4 separate regions of the Homo sapiens genome follow, and regions 2, 3 and 4 are each linked to region 1. Evidence: promoter capture Hi-C in human tissues and cell types (Jung and others, 2019). All regions are on one chromosome and are shown on one strand. Each heading gives the region's core, a stretch centred on a gene start or on the middle of the fragment in contact. The rest is flanking DNA. Distances are from core to core; before and after follow the strand shown. Region 1 holds the start of TMEM221 (transmembrane protein 221). Region 2 has its middle 12 kb from the start of KCNN1. Region 3 has its middle 22 kb from the start of CCDC124. Region 4 holds the start of CPAMD8 (C3 and PZP like alpha-2-macroglobulin domain containing 8).

Region 1 (4,489 bases), core at 1,217-3,716:
ATCTATCCATCCATCCATTCATCCTTCCTTACTTCGATCCATCCACCATCCATTCTCTTTCCCCTATAACCCATCTATATGCATGAGTCCACTCAAACACTCAACACTCAGGATGCAGCTACTATGTGCAGATACTTGCTACACACCTGGCTTCCATTATTTTACAGACTACAAGCTTCTTTGAGAGATGAGGAAACTGAGTTTCACATGCTGTTATTGATGATACAAACCGCGACCCCAAGAGGTGAGACTGATTGAGGAGGAAGTGGAGGCTATAAGAGCTTCCATCCTCACTCAGCTCCCACCAGTATAATGAAAGTGGACGCCTTCCCCATCTTCCTGTCGCCTTCCCTCCTGTCCCCTTTTCAGCACAGTGGCTAGAGGTGGTCATTCAAAACCTAAATCAGATCACCTTCCTCCTTACTCACAACCCTCCTTAGCAGAAGAAATCCCAAAGTCCTATCTCCTCTCTATCCCATCTCTCTGTTTCCTTTCCTTCTCAGCACTCATTACCATCTGCTATTATTATTATTATTAGAGATGAGGTCTCACTATGTTGCCCAAACTAGAGTGCAGTGGTTATTCATAAGCATGATCATGGCTCACTGCAGCCTTGACCTCCTGGGCTCAAGGGATCCTCTTGCCTCAGCCTCTTAAGTGTATGGGACTACAGGCATGCACCACCACACCTAGCTAATTATTATTTTTTCTTTTTGTAGAGGCAAGGTCTTGCTATATTACCCAGGCTGGTCTCAAATTCCTGGCCTCCCAGCACTTTGGGAGGCCAAGGTGGGTGGGTCATTTGAGGTCAGGAGTTCAAGACCAGCCTGGCCAACATGGTGAAACCCCGCCTCTACTAAAAATACAAAAATTAGCTGGGTATGGTGGTGGGCACCTGTAATCCCAGCTACTCGGGAGGCTAAGGTGGGAGAATCGCTTGAACCCAAGAGGTGGAGGCTGCAGTGAACCGAGATAGCGCCACTGCACTCCAGCCTGGGTGACAGAGCAAGACTCTGTCTCAAAAAAAAAAAAAGAAAAAAAAATTCCTGGCCTCAAATGATCCTCCTGCCTCTGCCTCCCAAAGGGCTGGGATTGCAGGTGTGAACCACCATGCCTTGTCCTTGTTATGTTTCCTTATTTTCTGTGACCCCATGAGAGCAGGTCTGGGTCCACTTGGTCCCCGCTGTCTCTGATGCCCTGAGCCAGATCCATTCCCCTGCAGGCAGGCACCCAACAGATGTTTGCTGACCCGTGGGACCCATGCATTTCATTGTCCCTTGGGTGGAAGGTGCATGGTCTGGATAGGATCTACCTCAATGGTGGGAGTTCTCATCTGCTCAATTTCACAGAATTCTGGACTAGAATTTGGGCTCCTCTCCCCCGACATTCTGGAGAGAAACACTACCATGTGGGACAGCGGAGTCCTCAGCTCAAGGAGGGTTCCTCCTTCCACAACCACTGCCCCTGATAGGGGTCCCTCAATGACCACATCCCTGACTGAGTTCAGGTCCCTGAGGAAGGAACTCAATTTCAGACCAGGACACAGGCTCTGGCTGGCTCTACCCAGAACCAAGTTCAAGTCCAGCACTGTCCCGCCTCCCACCCACTTCCAAGCCAGACAGCCTGAGAGCTCAGCCTCCCCTGTTTGAGATCCAGGCAAGCTGATCCTGGACCCTCTTTGAGCCTCAGTTTCCTCATCTGCAAAATGCGAGACACAGCAGTGGTTGCACCTGCTGCAAAATTGAACAAATATAGAATGGAGGGAGGGAAGGAGGGAGGAGGAGAGGAAAGGAGGGAGGCAGAGAGACATGGAGTGGTGGGGAGAGGGAAGTGGGGAGGGAAGCTGTCCCCCCAGCCTGAGGCCAAAAGAGGGGAAGAGGCTCAACCAGGCTCACCCAGCCCCCAGCCGGGCCTCCGAGGCGGTGAGGCCAGTCCTCCTACCTCCTGGGGCCAGGCCCCCGCGCCAGCTCGGCGCCCAGGTGGCCACAGAGCGCGGCGAGCAGCAAGCAGGTGAACCCCAGCACGAGCACCAGCGCGGCCAGCGCGGCGGCCAGCGGCAGCAGCGTCCCGGCCGCGTCCTCTGGCAGCCCGGGGCCGGCGCCCAGCTCCTGGCCCAGCCCCTCGGCGCGCAGCCCCCGCAGCTCGGCGCGGCCCGCCTGCAGCTGAAACAGCAGCTGCGCGCCCAGCGCCGCCAGCACGGCCGCCGCGATGCCCAGCAGGGTCATTGCAGCCAGCACCCGGCCGCCGTAAGAACGGGCCATGGCGGGGGTTCCTGCGGGCCGGGGGAAGAGTTGAGGAATTGAAGTGGTTTTAGAGGGCAGGGGAGTTGGGGGGAATCCGAGGGTCCTCAGGGGGTCCCCGAGGGGGCGGGGCCGCAGGGAGTGTCTGAAAGTTCGGGGACTGGGCTGGGGGTCGCCAGACGGACGGGGGCTCCGGGGTGCTGGTCGCAGCCGGGACGCCGAATCTCCGCGAAAACTTGGGACAAAGTCTTTTCTCCTCCCTCCCGGGGCCCCGCGGGCGCCCCCTCTTGGTCCGCTGGGCCTGGCGGGGCGGGGCCTGGCACCGGGCGCAGGGCGGGGAGGCCCCACTAGGGACTGGATCGCGGGAACCCCACAGCTCGCTAAGTTCAGAAAAGGGCACCACCCCGCCCCCTGCCGCCCTAAGCATCGATTGTATTGTGGTTTAAAACAAGAAAAAGGAGGCCGGGGGCGGTGGCTCTCGCCTGTAATCCCAGCACCTTGGGAGGCCGAGGCGGGCGGATCACAAGGTCAAGAGTTCCAGACCAGCCTGGCCAATATGGTGAAACCCCGTCTCTACTAAAAATACAAAAATTAGCCGGGCGTGGTGGCCGGAGCCTGTAATCCCAGCTACTCGGGAGGCTGATGCAGGAGAATTGCTTGAACCCAGGAGGCGGAGGTTTCAGTGAGCTGAGATTACGCCATTGCACTGCAGCCTGGGCGACAGAGCGAGACTCCGTCTCAAAATTAATTAATTAATTAATTAAAAAATAAAAAATAAAGAGAAAGGAGGCCGGGCGCGGTGGCTCTCGCTTGTAATCTCAGCACTTTAGGAGTCCGAGGTGGGCGGATCACTTGAGGTCAGGAGTTCAAGACCAGCCTGGCCAACATGGTGAAACCCCCGTCTCTACTAAAAAAAAAAAAAAAAAAAAAAATTAGCCCGGCGTAGTGGTGCATGGCCTGTAATCCTAGCTACTCGGGAGGCTGAGGTTGGAGGAATGCTTGAATCAGGGAGGCGGAGGTTGCAGTGAGCCGAGATTGCACCACTGCACACTCCAGCCTGGCTGACAGAGTAAGACTCCATCAAAAAAAAAAAAAAAAAAAAAGAGAGAGAGAGAGAAAGGGCTGGGTGAGGTGGTTCACAACTGTAATCCCAGCACTTTGGGAGGCTGAGGCAGGAGGATGGCTTAAGCCCAGGAGTTTGAGACCAGCCTGGGCAACATAGCCAGACCCCATCTCTACAAAAAATAAGGAAGTCAGCCTGGTGTGGTGGTGCACGCCTGTGGACCCAGCTACTTTCGGGACTGAGACAGGAGGATCGCTTGAGCCCAGGAGGTCGAGGCTGCAGTGAACTGAGATCACGCCACTGCACTCCAGCCTGAGTGACAGAGCGAGGCTGTGTCTCAAAAAAGAAATAACAAAATTTAAAAATTCACTTTTCATTTGATCTCAACCCAGGGACTCTGTCATTGGCTGTGATTTCCCCTCTGCTTACTTCCTTCAAGCCTTTGGGTAACCGTTGCTTCCTCTAGGAGGCTAGGGAGAATCCTGGATCCCTTCCCCAACTGGTCCCCCAAATTATTCGCACAGCACTTTAAAAAAATCGAGATGAAACTTACATAACATAAAATTAATCATTTTATTCAGTGGCATTTAGTGTTGTACAATCATTACCTCTGTCTAGCTCCAGAAGATTTTCATCCCCCCAAAAGGAGACCCCATCCCCATTACCAGCCACTCCCCATTCCCCCTCCTCAAGTGGCTCACAACCATTAATCTACTTCTTGTCTCTGTCGATTTGCCTGTTCTGGACACTTCATATCAATGGAGTCATACAAGAGGTGGCATTCTGGCTTCTCTCACTCTGCATGATGTACTCAAGGTTCATCGAGGTTGTAGCATGGATCAGTGCCTCATTCCTTTTTATGGCTGCGTAATATTCCATAGCGTGTCTGGAACACATTGTGTTCATCCGTTCATCCATTGATGGGTATTTGTGTTGTTGGTTCCTTTTGGTGAAGGTGACTAATGCTGCTATAAACATGTGTGCACAGGTATCTTCTTGAGTCACTGCTGTCAATTCTTGTGGGGCGTGGACTCCTAGGAGTGGAGTTGCTGAGTCACATAGTTACTCTATTTTAACTCTTTGTGGAACCCTCAAACTTTTCCACAGCAGCTGCACCGTTTTCCATTTCCACCAGCAATGTCTGAGGTTTTTAAAAATAATTTTCTGCACATCCTCCCCAACACGT
Region 2 (4,489 bases), core at 1,126-3,625, 510 kb after region 1:
TCCTCCCTCTCTGTCCCCTCAGGTTTCTCCCTTTCTCCTTGCGTTGTGGCGGGGATTCCCTGTGCTGGCCAGGCTGCGCAGTAGGAGGGAACCCCCCACCTGCCAGCCTACTGTGCGCTGGGCTCCGGGTTCCTGTTCTTTTCCCTAAGCTCCCTCCCTTCCCCCCTCCCCTCTCCCGGACAGGAGGAGGGGCTGAGGCCCAGAGAGGGTTACCACTCGCCCAAGGTCACCCAGCTGGGCTGGGGCAGAGCAGGTTTCTGGTCAGATCCACGAATCCCGGGACCCAGCTGGGGAGGTCAGCTTTGGGATCCTCTGCCCCCGCCGCCGTTTAACCCTGAGCGTGGGTTGCCAGGGCCCCAGAACTGGGGGGATTCCTTACTTTCTCCAAGTTTCTCCTCTGGCTAGAGACCCAGACAGGACTGAGCCAAGAAGCCCCGGCCTCGCTCTCTTCCGGGGCTCCCAGATCTCACCTCCTCTTGTCCCCCGTGTGCCCCCGCTCCCAGCCTCCTCAGGCTGCCCAAGACCTCATCAAAGGAAATCCCTGGGGGGAGGGGGCTTATAGATGGGGAAGTCAAAGCTTCTGGAGCCACGGAGGAGATAATTTTTACTCCGACGCAGCAACCCGCTGAGTGACCTTGGACAAGGCCCTGCCCTCCCAAGGCTAGGGTCAGCACCAAGTCCCCCTGGCTGGAACAGGTGGCCCCTGAGCCATCCAAGGTGACCATTGCCCCGATCCCAGGTCCTGGTGAGAGAAAGGGCAGCTGGGGGTTTCCCCTTCAGTCCTGTTCTGGGGTCTGGCATTGCCCCTGCCCTCCATGGGGTGTCCTTTTCTGCCCTCTTCTCCAGGATCGGACTTGGGTACCATGTGCTTCTATAAGCCCTCTGCAGACAGCACTAAATAGATGGAGGGAGCACGCCAAGGGAGCTACAGGCTCCCAGGGCAGCTTCAGAGCTGGGGAGCAAGAGTTCAGCTGCTCTGCCAAGCGAGGTGGTTCACAACTGTAATCCCAACACTTTGGAAGGGCGAGGCAAGCTCAGGAGTTCGAGACCAGCCTGGGCAACGTACTGAAACCCTGTCTCTACAAAAAATTAAAAAAATTAGCCAGGTGTAGTGGTGCACACTTGTAGTCCAAGCTACTTGGGGGCCGAAGGTGGGAGGATCGCTTGAGCCCGGGAAGTCAAGGCTGCAGTGAGCCATGTTCATGCGACTGCACTCCAGCCTGGGTGACAAAATGTCACCTCCCTGAATGTCACCCACCTAGATCTCCCCATGGCGAAGGAACTAGGGGCAATGTGAGGGGGTGAGCAGGAACAGCATTGGGAAAGACAGATAAAGCATTCAGTGTCTAGCTTCTGGAGCCCAGTGAAAGGAGGAGTGGCCTTAGGGAGGGGACATGGAAGAGGTGGGGCTAGCCCAGGGCCCCATTGGAGTGATAAAGCCACTGTTCTTAAGCTTCCTGAAAGCTTAGGAGATGACCCAGCTCAGCAACACCAAGCCAGAGCGCAGATCTGCTGTAAAGACCATTGTACGTAATAGGCTGAAGCAGGTGAATCACCTCTGGCCAGGAGTTCAAGTCCAGCCTGGCCAACACAGCAAAACCCCATCTCTACTAAAAATACAAAAAGTAGCCGGGCATGGTGGCAGGCACCTGTAATCCCAGATGCTTGGGAGGCTGAGGCAGGAGAATTGTTTGAACCCTGGAGGCGGCAGTTGCAGTGAGCTGAGATCACATCACTACACTCCAGCCTGGGTGACAGAGCAAGACTCTGTCTCAAAAAAATAAAAAATAAGAAAGACCACTGTAGTCCGGGAGCTGTCTGCACCCTACTCTTTTGGGTCCCCGCCTCCACCCCGCACCCCCTGTCTGATCATTACAGATCTCAAAGGGACAGGAAAGGCAGCAGCAGCCACCCTCTCTCCCAGTCAAGTGGTCACCAGCAGGACTGAAGGGGACAGCCCCTTTGCAGTGGCTCGGCGAGGAGACCCCTGCACCCTAGGGTGAGTGAATCCCAGACTTGGGTCGCCTTTGGGGGTGGGGGTGGCTCAGGGGTTGGATAGAAAAATTGGTAACTGGGCAGGCTAGGTGGCTCACGCCTGTAATCCCAGCACTTTGGGAGGCTGAGGCAGGTGGATCACTTGAGGTCAGGAGTTTGAGGCCAGTTTGGCCGACATGGCGAAACCCCGTGTCTACTAAAAATACAAAAATTGCCCGGGGATGGTGGTGGGCACCTGCAATCCTAGCTACTTGGGAGGCTGAGGCAGGAGGACCACTTGAATCCGGGAGGCAGAGGTTGCAGTGAGCCAAGATCGCGCCACTGCACTCCAGCCTGGGCGACAGAGCAAAGCTCTGTTTCAAAAAAAAAAAAAAAAAGGTGACCTGAGGAAAAAGTGCCAGCTTTTGAAATAATAACAAGCTGGGTACAGTGGCGTGCACCTGTGGTCCTAGCTACTCGGAAGGCTAAGGTGGGAGTATCGAGTCCAGGAGTTCGAGGCTGCAGTGAGCTATGATCACGCTTGTGAATGGCCACTGCACTCCAGCCTAGGCGACAGAGCGAGACCCCCATCTCTTTAATTAAAAAAAAAAAAAAGAAAAAAGGCCAGACGTGGTGGCTTACGCTTGTAATCCCAGCACTTTGGGAGGCCAAGGCAGGCAGATCACCTGAGGTCAGGAGTTCGAGACCAGCCTGGCCAACAGGGTGAAACCCCCATCTCTACTAAAAATACAAAATTAGCCAGGCATGGTGCTGCATGCCTGTAATCCCAGCTACTTGGGAGGCTAAGGCAGGAGAATCACTTGAACCCAGGAGGCGGAAGTTGCAGTGAGCCGAGATTGTGCCATTGCACTCCAGCCTGGGCAACAAGAGTGAAACTCCATCTCCAAAAAAAAAAAAAAAAAGAAAGAAAGAAAAAAAATAATAATATAATTATTATTATATCATATATATCATGATGATGATAGCAAGGACTATGCTTTCTAGAGCCTCCGGGGAGTTACTGTCCACTTTCTTTGATCACTGGAGTTGGGGAAACTATTCAGAGAGGCCAGATGACCTAGAAGTGGGGTGTTGAGCCAGGTTGGAAGAGCTCTGTCCCACCACTCCCGCCCCCGCCCCCCACACACAGCCTCTACTTCCCGGCTCTCGTGGTCTCGCTGGAGACAGCCCCCAGGGTAGGCCAGCTCTGTGGAAGGCAGCTCCTGTGCTCCTTTCTCCAGTGAACTTTTTTTTTTTAGTTTTGTTTTGTTTTGTTTTGTTTGTTTGTTTTGAGACAGAGTCTGACTCTGTCGCCCAGGCTGGAGCGCAGTGGCATGATCTTGGCTCACTGCAACCTCCACCCTCCACCCCACCGGGTTCAAGCGATTCTCCTGCTTCAGCCTCCCAAGTAGCTGGGATTACAGGCATGCGTCACCACGCACAGCTAATTTTTGTGTTTTCAGTAGAGATGGGGTTTCCCCATGTTGGCCGGGCTGGTCTCGAACTCCTGACCTCAGGTGATCCACCTGTCTTGGCCTCCCAAAGTGCTGGGATTGCAGGCGTGAGCCACTGAGCCAGGCCTCCTTGGTGAACACTGACTGACATCCAGGGTCAGCACTAAGCTGCCCATGGGGGTGTGGAGAAAACAGAGGTGGTGGTCATTTAGTCAATCAACAAACACTGAGCAAGCTAGCTACTGTCTGCCAGGCCCTAGGCTGGATGCTGGGATGCAATAAGGACAAAGGCCAGCCCAGGTCAGCCCTTGTGGAATTTCATGGGGCATCAATTAAGCTTAAGTGTTTTGTGCTGGATACAGTGGCTGATGCCTGTGATCCCAGAACTTTGGGAGGCCAAGACAGGAGGATCACTTGAGCTCAGGAGCTTGAGACCAGCCTGGGCAATGTAGCAAGAACCCATCTCTACAATTTTTTTTTTTTTAAATTAACCAGTGGGGTGGTGCATGTGTGTGGTCCCAGCTACTCTGGAGGCTGAGATGGGGGGATCACTTGAGCCCAAGAGGTCGAGGATACAGTGGGCTATGATTGAACCACTGTACTGTAGTCTGGGTGACAGTGAGACTCTGTCTCAGAAAGAAAGCGAGAAAGAGAGAAAGGGGGCCAGGTGTGGTGGCTCATGCCTGTAATCCCAGCACTTTGGGAGGCCGAGGTGGGCGGATAATGAGGTCTGGGGATAGAGACCATCCTGCATGGTGAAACCCCGTCTCTACTAAATACAAAAAATTAGCCAGGGGTGATGTCGGGAGTGCCTGTAATCCTAGCTACTCAGGAGGCTGAGGCAGGCAGGAGAATCGCTTGAACCAGGGAGTTGGAGGTTGCAGTGAGCCGAAATTGCAGCACTGCACTCCAGCCTGGCGACAAAGCGAGACTGTCTCAAAAAACAAAACAAAACAAAACAAAAAAACAAAAAACAGAGAAAGGGAGGGAGGGAGGGACAGAGGGAGGGAGGAAGGAAGGAAGGAAAGGATGGAGGGAGAGAGAGAAAAAAAGGAGAGGAG
Region 3 (4,489 bases), core at 761-3,260, 460 kb after region 1:
TTTTGTGTTTTTAGTAGAGGCAGGGTTTCACCATGTTGGCCAGGCTGGTCTCGAACTCCTGACCTCAGGTGATCTGCCTGCCTCTGCCTCCCAAAGGGCTGGGATTACATGTATGAACCACTGCACCCGGCTCTGTTTTACCATCTAACAGGATGCAGGTGATTCCTTTCTAATCACCATCAATGGTGATCAGAACTTTTAAGAAAAATTCTAAGAACTTAAAAAAAAAAAAGGAAAGTGGTTTCTGAATGTTATCTAAAGTTTTTCCATGGTGAAATAATCACGTGGAATTTTTCTCCTTTTATCTTTTCATTGAATAAATGAAGCTTTCTAAAGCTGAACTTTCCTTGTCTCTTTGGAATAAGACCCCGCATACTCCTAGTATAGTGTCTTTTAAAGCACAGCTGAACTCAATTTGCTAATGTTTTATTCAGCATTTTTGCATGCACCAAGAGCCCTGACCTCTTCCTGGCAGCTCAGTACCCTGCAGCTGAGCCGATTCCCATAGGAATCCTGGAACTTCTGCATAAGGTCAACTGGGTGACTTCAACCAAGCAGCTCCAGAGGCCTCCTCCCAGAATCTCCTCTTCCTCTGGGCAACCCTGCTGCCTACCCCAGCACCCCAGGCAGTGCCCTTGCCTCCTGTTCCTCCTCGTCCTCTGAGCCCTGTCTTGCAGCCCTGTTGAATGTTCTCCTAAATGGCTGGGAGGTGGGGCCCCTCCCCTTCAGGTCCACAGGCTTGTCTCTGTCTCCCCTGCTGATCTTGGTATCTGTAGCTTAAGCCAATACTGAGGCCCTGAATTCCTATTCTTTCTGGTACAGCGGGAGAGTTGTCAAGAAGCCAGGTGGAGCAGAAGACAAGACCAGGCAGGAAGCAGGTAAGTTTCCACTGGAATGACTCCACTTGCCTCCTACCGAGGCCCAGGGCTGTGTCAGCTTCAGGTGCAGCTGGCTCCAGGCCCACCTGGGGCACAGCACGGCAAGGATGGAAGGTCTCCCCTACATCCTATTCTCCCCAGAGCCAGGTCTGAGACGGGCTGGGATTGAGGATCATCCCAAAACTGGTGGCTCTCAGGAGGTAGCTCACCTCATGCCACCTACCCCACCAAGATGGAATCTTTTTTTTTTTTTTTTTTTGAGACAGACTCTTGCTCTGTCACCCAGGCTGGAGTGCAGTAGCATATTCTTGGCTCACTGCAACCTCCGTCTCCCGGGTTCAAGCGATTCTCCTGCCTCAGCCTCCCGAGTAGCTGGGATTACAGGCACCCGCCACCACACCCAGCTAATTTTCATATTTTTAGTAGAGACAAGGTTTCGCCATGTTGGCCAGTCTGGTCTTGAACTCCTGACCTCAAGTGATCTGCCCACCTAGGCCTTCCAAAATGCTGGGATTATAGGCGTGAGCCACCACTCCTGGCCTAAGGATGGAATCTTGATGAAATTGCTGTGTGGCCTGCAGCCAGTCGCTGCCCCTCTCTGGGTCATCCACGTTGCTTTCTCCAAGTCCTGACCTGGCAATGGATTGTTCAAGGAGCTGGTCAAATCCACAGTTGCCCCAGCAATGCAGAGCCCTCAAACATGAAAAAAAAAAATCTAGACAGAAAGATTTTTTTTTTTCTTAGAAAAATGAGCCAGGTGCAGTGCCTCACGCCTGTAATCCCACCACTTTGGGAGGTGGGGCGATCATCTGAGCCCAGGAGTTTGAGACCAGCCTGGGCAACATGGTGAAACTGCATCTCTACAAAAAATACAAATATTAGCCTGGTATGGTGATGCATGCCTGTGGTCCCAGCTACACAGGAGGCTGAGGTGGGAGGATCGCCCGAGCCTGGGAAGTTGAGGCTGCAGTGAGTTGTGATCATGCTACTGCACTTCAGCCTGGGTGATGGGAGTGAGACCCTGCCTCAAAAATCTAAAAAAAGAAAAAAAAAGAATATTAGATTACAAAATTCACATTACTGTGGAAATTGCTTTTGCCCTTCCAAAACAAATCATAAAACATGTTTCCTGGTGAATACATACAAATCTTACTAAATCTTCTTTTGAATACATATAAATCTTATTAAATCTTCTTTTAATTTATTTTTTTAAATTTGGCTTTTCTTTTTTCTTTTTAATCACAAAATAATTTCAAGAGCCAATTTGTCCTGGAGGCCTTGTTATGAAAATCTGCAGACCCCTGCGGCTCTCATGTTTGACGAAATCAAGAAAAACATTAACACAATCGTTGCAGAAGGGTGACCAATGCGGTTGCTTTGCGGCTGAGTATTGGTTTTATTTCAAAACACAATGTAAGAGGAACAAACAAAACACACATCCCACTCAACACCACACTTCTGACACCAGATGTGTGGGTTGTCTTTATTTTTTCCACATAGTAAGCAATTCTCCAGTGGACACCAGCTGGGATTCCTCTGATGCAATTTGGTTCCGATGCTATCTACTCGGACACAGCATCAGATCCCGCAGGTTAAGGGCTCAATCCCACAAAACAGCCCGCCTTGAGACACAATGGTCTCTATAGAGTGGGATACCCCACCCTTGCAACCTGCAGATGTGTTCATCAACTCGGAAGCTCTTCAAACCCCATCTTTTGGGGATTTTTATGGGGGCTTCATTATGAAGGCATGATTGATTATTAACTCAGTCCCTAGCCCCTCTCCGGTCTCCAGAGAAAGAGGGTGGGGCTGAAAGCTCCAAGCTTCTAATGATGGCTTGGTCTTGTTGGTCCCCACCCAGGAACCCACCAAGAGTCATCTTTTTAGAACCAAAGACGCTCCTATCACCCAGGAAACTCTAGGGGATTTAGGAGCTCTATGTCAGACACTCCCATCACTCTGTCAGGAACTGGGGTCAAAAGACCAAATATTTATTTATTTATTTATTTATTATTATTTTGAGACGGAGTCTCGTTCTGTTGTCAGGCTGGAGCGCAGTGGTGCGATCTCAGCTCACTGCAGCCTCCGCCTCCTGGGTTCAAGCGATTCTCCTGCCTCAGCCTACCGAGTAGCTGGGACTACAGGTGTGCGCCACAGGCCTGGCTAATGTTTGTATTTTTAGTAGAGATGAGGTTTTGTTATGTTGGCCACCCTGGTCTCAAACTCCTGGCCTCAAGTGATCTGCCCACTTCCACCTCCCAAAGTGCTGGGATTACAGGCATGAGCCACCCTGCCCAGACTATTTATTTTTATTTTTAAACTTTTCTTTAGAAAAAGAATCTTGCTGTGTTGCCCAGGGTGGAGTGCAGTGGGGAGATGTTGATTCACTGCAGCCTCAAACTCTCAGGCTCAATCAATCCTCCCACCTCAGCCTCCCGAGTAGCTGGGACTATAGGCACACACCACCATGCCCAGCTAATTTTTTATCTTTTGTAGAGACAGCAACTCACTAAGTTGCCCAGGCTGGTCTTGAACTCCTGGGCTGAAGCAATCCTCCTGCTTCAGCCTCCCAAAGTGCTGGGATTATAGGCATGAGCCACCACACCCAGCCCCATGCCCTGTTTTTCACTGGTGCATATTTTCTACCAGAAATGAGAGTTTTAGGTATGAATGAAGACTAGTCTGTGTGAAAACCTGTAATTGTGCTTTTGAAAAAAGATCTCCAGGTCTTCACAAAACTTTTTATTCCCTGAGGATGCCCCACTGCAAACGCCTGTGAAGCTGGAGTGCCAGACACTGAGGCCTGAGGCTGGGGGACACAGAGGCTACCAGCTTGCTTGGACCTCCTCAATCTGTCAAAGAAACTGGCTTGGGGACCACTGGAGGACCCAAATCTCCCTCTTCTCTGGGCAGTGGGTCTTGTGCATGCTGGCCTTGGACCTACTGAAGGCCCTTCCAGCCCCAGTGCTATTCTCTGAATTCATGGGGAGCAGAGGTGTTGGGACTGAGTCCTGTTGGAGACTCCAGAAACACTGACGTTTCTTGTTTGGTCCTGGGGTTAGGTAACGACGGCTGTTTCTTTTTTTCTTTCTTTCTTTCTTTTTTTTTTTTTTTTTTTTGAGGTGGAGTCTTGCTCTGTCACACGGGCTAGAATACAGTGGTGTGATCTTGGCTCACTGCAACCTCCACCCCCTGGGTTCAAGCGATTCTCCTGCCTCAGCCTCTCGAGTAACTGGGATTACAGGCATGCACCACTACCCCCAGCTAATTTTGTATTTTTAGTAGAGATGGGATTTCTCCATGTTGGTCAGGTTAATCTCAAACTCCTGAGCTCAGGTGATCCACCCACCTCGGCCTCCCAAAGTGCTGGGATTACAGGTGTGAGCCACCACACCTGGCCAGCAATTTATTTTTAGTCAGTTGTGGACTATCCTGGGTGGCTCCTGCCTAGATTATTCTAAGAATTTCTTTTTTCTTTTTTTTTTATTTTAAGACAAGGTCTTACTCTGTCGCCCAGGCTGGAGTGCAGTGATGTGATCTTGGCTCATTGCAACCTCCACCTCCCCAGTTCAAGCAATTCTCCTGCCTCAGCCTCCCAAGTAGCTGGGATT
Region 4 (4,489 bases), core at 652-3,151, 420 kb before region 1:
TCCAGAGCTATTCCTAAGACGAGATCCTTTGGGCTGGGTGAACCATGCCCCTGGCTTAGAGGCCAGCTAATCTGGAATCCCAGGTCGGTCATTTGGGGACATCTCTTCCCCAGTGTGTCTCTCAGCACAGGGATTCCATGTCACTTAACAGATGGTAAGATCACAGGGTGACTTTAGTCAGAGGAAAACGCCCTGGAGAACTGTTTAAAACTCTCTAACGGGCCAGGCACGGTGACTCACGCCTCTAATCCCAGCACTTTGGGAGGCGGAGGTGGGTGGATCACCTGAGGTCAGGAGTTCCAGAACAGCCTGGCTAACATGGAGAAACCCCATCTCTATTAAAAATACAAAAAATTAGCCGGGTGTGGTGGCACACGCCTGTAATCCCAGCTACTCAGGAGGCTGAGGCAGGAGAGTCATTTGAACCTGGGAGGCGGAGGTTGCAGTAAGCCAAGATCGTGCCATTGCACTCCAGCCTGGGCAACAAGAGTAAAACTCCATCTCAAAACAAAAACAAAAACAAACCCCAAAAACAACAAACAACAAACAAAAACCTCTGTATAAGGCAGGGTCTCTCATTGGAGCCAAGGTCTGTCATGTGGGGCCGCGTCATTCCTTGCAGTGGAAGCTGACCTGCACATCGAAAGCTGTTTACCAGCATTCCTGGCCTGCACCCACTTAATGCCAACACCAAATGCCTCTCCCTATTTGTGACAACCAAAAATACCTCCAGACATTTCCCAGCGGCCTCAGGGAGACAAAAATCCCCCCCAGGGCTGAGAACCACTATTCTAAGGGATGCCAGCTTTGAAAGAAGCATTAGGATGAAAATTTGTAGGGTTCCGATTTCACGAAGCCTAGGAGAGGGAAGTCTGGATGCTCAGAGCGCAGTAGACTGTCTTGCTTTTAAAACTGTGACCAGCAAGGACCAACTACTCACTGCAAATAACGACACCCACCTAGTCTCACTGCTTACCAGTTTTCTGGAAACTCCTAAACAAGGGCTGCTTGAACAAGCCGCCTTCTAAACGCCCAGCTGGACTAAAAGGCTGGTCTTGTGCAGACCAGGGCAGCCCCCCTGAACCCGCAGCCCTGCAGAGCTCACCCGAACTTGCCAGGTTTAGAAATATTCTCTGTGAAGCCAACTTAGCAGTACTCCCCAGCAGTTAGTTAATTCACCTTCTCCCCGCTGTCAACCCACCAGAAGCCTGCAAGCAAACCTCTAGAAAAATGTAGAAGCAAAACAAACACTTCCTCCTCCCTCACCACGCCCACCCACGGGAAAGTGCCCCTTCGCACTCTCCTCCCACTTCTCAGCCAAGACGCTCCTCTTACCTTCATACCTTGGACAACTGGAAATCGCCACCCATGATGACAGCCCGGGTCACACGAAGGGGGCGAGGTGGGGCGGGGGGAGCTGACCTCAGCACCTTTAGCTTTTGGGAGTCCCTGTACCTCCACAGAGCCACTTCGGAAACTTTAGGGCGCCCCCTCCTCAAGACGATTCGGGAACAAGAGGCCAGGTCCAGCCCAGCGCGGAGGCTGTGTGGCCTTGGGCAGGTCGCTGCAACACTCTGAGCCAGTACCCGCGACCCCCACCCCAGAAGGCGACCGACCTCCTCTGTCGCCGGAGGATACTCACGGGGCCTGAGGCTGCGCGGCGCGCACGCCGTCCCGCGCCGACAGCAGCAGGAGCAGGAGCGGGAGCAACGGCCAGAGCAGGGCGCCGCTCATTTTTCGGCTCCTGGGGGGCGCCGCGCCTGGGGAGGGGGCCGGGCCAGGGCTGGGCCAGGGCCAGGGTCCGAGCGCGGCCGTCCTCGCGCCGCCGCCGGGGGCCCTTTGTTCGCAGCCCCCGCGCAGTGCGCCCGGCGCCATGCGCCCCGCTCCGCGCCCGGCCAAGCTGGGGCAGCCCCGGGCCAGCCCCCTCCCCGGACCCGCCTCGTCTCCGGGACCGCCCCGCTCGCCCCGCTCGCCCCGCTCCTGGGCGCACCCTCCCGGGACGCCTGCTCCGCCCATCTCCGGACCCCGACCCGCCCCGATCCCTTCCGGGGATCGTCCCCTCACTTACTCACCGGACCCACCCGGGCCCTGCCCGATTCCTTCCGAACCCGCCTCCTCACCCCCTACCCGGATTCGCCCCCGGATGCCCCCCTCCCCACCAGCCCCGCCTCGGACCCGACCCCCCACCGCCCCCACTCTCCCTCTCCTCTCCACCCAGCGTCCACTCGGAACCTGTCCCTTCCCTGGCCTCTCCCTCCCTCCCTCCCCAGCCAGCCCCTTATGGCCCCCTCCCCGGGCCCGCCCCTCACCAGGGGCCCCTGGGTCTGGACGCCGCCTGCAACCCCGATCCCACAGGCGCCGCCGTGCCCTAAGCCCTGGCCTGTATCTAGTGCCCAGTGCAGTGCGTACAGCCCAAGGAGCAGAGGACCCTTTGGGGAAACAGTCTAGCCAGGGGTCGAACCTCCCAGACTCACATCTGCCCCAGGTCCCTATCTGTGCTCTCTGCTCCCCTCTCCCCCACCCCCACTGTCCACAAATCCCTTGGGCCCGTCCCCTCTCTCGCTGGGCCTCAGAGTCCCCCTTTCCCCTTCATACAGCAGGGGTGGATGGGCACCCCCTTTCTCTCCAAGAGCAGGGTGTCCCCTCCTGCCCCTCCCCGTGTGGCCACCTCAGTGATGGTCCTGCTGTCCTAGGTCCCACTGGCAGGCGGCACATCCTATACCATGTCCAAGTCCTGGACCCCCTCCTTCCAGTGTGGAACCCCCTTCCCCCAGCTACCAACTGCCCTTCTTCTAAAATTCCAGTGCTGACCACACCCCCTCCTGCCCGGAATCCTCGGGGCTCCCTGTTTATTTTACATTTTATTTTTATGTTTTGAGACCAGAGTTTTGCTCTGTTGCCCAGGCAGGAATTTAGTGGTGCAGTCACAGCTCACTGCAGCTTCAGACTCCTGGAGAGTAGCTGGGACTACAGGTGCAAGCCCGCACCCAGCTAATTTTTATATATTTTTTTTTAGAAACGGAGTCGCACTGTGTTGCCCAGGCTGGTCTTGAGCACTGGGCTCAAATGATCCTCCCTCCTCAGCCTCCCAAAGTGCTGGGATTACAGGTGTGAGCCACCACATCCAGCCAGGGCTTCCCGTTTATTGAGACCAAATCTAAACTCTGGCTTTGATGGCAGAGACCTCAGCCTAGTTCCTCCAACACCCTGTTCTTACTCCACTGCCTGCTTCTGCCTAATCTCTGTCTTCCTCTACCTGCCTCCTTTGCCAGTCCAACTCCTGATCCTTCCAGGAAACTCAAGGGAAGCTTCTCTTGCCCCCTCCCTGCCCCTAGGGATGTGGGTCCTCTGGGGGCTTCTCAGCCCTGTCAACAGCCTTTGGACCCAACACTGATCACCCAGGCAGCACCAAGCCCTGGGCTGGGCAATGAGGACCCTGGGACATACAGGACCTGCTGCCACTGAGCACACAACCCAGAGGGGACGTAACTGATGATGGTGTGTTGGTGTGTGTGTGTGCGTGCACGCGCGCAGGGGCCGGAGTAGATTGAGTAGCCGTCTCTCCTGCCTGGAGAAGAGGAGGAGCTGCCTGCCTCCAAGCTCAGACCAGGCCAACCCCAAACAGGCTGCTAAACTCACATGGAGGTGCAAAAATCTAGCACCAAGAAGCAGCATCTGATCTCACCCTCATCATCGAAGTTTGCCCCATGCCACCCCTCCGGGCCCCTCCAGGCCAACTCTGACTCCTACCTAAGCCAACCTCCACTCCTCAGCCTCCAGGCCAGCCTTTGAGCCCTCCGCCTCCCCCTTGACCATTGGGCTCTGGCCACATTTGCTCCTGAGATACATCAGACCCCCACCCACCACCACCATCTTGGGCCAAGGTGCCAGCTGTCCCCTCTGCCTGGGATGCACTTCCCCGTGGCATCACAAGACCGGCTGCTCTCCTCCACCTTCAGGGTTAGCCCGGAGGTGCCTTCCCTGCCTGCCTGGTTTGTAAGGTCTAAAATGTCAGTGCTGCCTTGGCATGGTTGAGCCACACAGGACCACGATGTCCTGACCGACCGTTCAGCTACTCTTGCCAAATATGCCCCCTGCCTGGCAAGAGAAGCTGCTCTCCACCTGGCTGTCTCACCAAGCAACCAGACCAGCTGCACCCCACCCATCAGCCACAGACTTCACTTCCCTAGCTGCTGAGAAGTTATTGAAACAAGCCATGCCCAGTCGTGGTGGCTCATGCCTGTAATCCCAGTACTTTGGGAGGCCGAGGCAGGTGGATCACCTGAGGCCAGGAGTTCAAGACCAGCCTGGCCAACATGGTGAAACCTCATCTCTACTAAAAATACAAAAATTAGCCAGGTGTGGTGGTGCACACCTGTAATCCCAGCTACTCGGGAGGCTGAGGCAGGTGAATCACTTGAACCCAGGAGGTGGAGTTTGCAGTGAGCCGAGATTGCGCCACTGCACTCCAGCCTGGGTGACAGAGTGA

What was found. The method cuts DNA at HindIII sites, captures the fragments that hold promoters and counts their contacts. A contact is called where the count stands out against the background at its distance.
Region 2: a contact is called between a fragment that was not itself captured here and the fragment with the promoter of TMEM221 in region 1, in 7 of the 25 tissues and cell types used here (aorta, bladder, dorsolateral prefrontal cortex and 4 more).
Region 3: a contact is called between a fragment that was not itself captured here and the fragment with the promoter of TMEM221 in region 1, in 3 of the 25 tissues and cell types used here (hippocampus, lymphoblastoid cells and spleen).
Region 4: a contact is called between the fragment with the promoter of CPAMD8 here and the fragment with the promoter of TMEM221 in region 1, in 1 of the 25 tissues and cell types used here (lymphoblastoid cells).

The regions. Positions count from the first base shown.
Region 1 is chr19:17,446,202-17,450,690 of GRCh38, forward strand. TMEM221 (transmembrane protein 221) reads right to left here and starts at 2,467. Exons shown (of 3, transcript NM_001190844.2): 1 at 1,942-2,467. The coding sequence starts at 2,261. RefSeq lists a silencer at 2,481-2,600. The HindIII fragment of the contact is 11,612 bases long and covers 1-4,489 here.
Region 2 is chr19:17,952,683-17,957,171 of GRCh38, forward strand. It overlaps a transcript of KCNN1 not described here. Among named protein-coding and RNA genes, the nearest start is that of KCNN1, 12 kb to the right of the region's middle. RefSeq lists an enhancer at 1-379. The HindIII fragment of the contact is 4,437 bases long and covers 158-4,489 here.
Region 3 is chr19:17,908,696-17,913,184 of GRCh38, forward strand. No RefSeq gene overlaps it. Among named protein-coding and RNA genes, the nearest start is that of CCDC124, 22 kb to the right of the region's middle. The HindIII fragment of the contact is 5,842 bases long and covers 1-4,489 here.
Region 4 is chr19:17,024,909-17,029,397 of GRCh38, forward strand. It overlaps CPAMD8 (C3 and PZP like alpha-2-macroglobulin domain containing 8), which reads right to left and starts at 1,902. Exons shown (of 42, transcript NM_015692.5): 1 at 1,643-1,902. The coding sequence starts at 1,734. RefSeq lists an enhancer at 2,074-2,982. The HindIII fragment of the contact is 4,679 bases long and covers 1-4,489 here.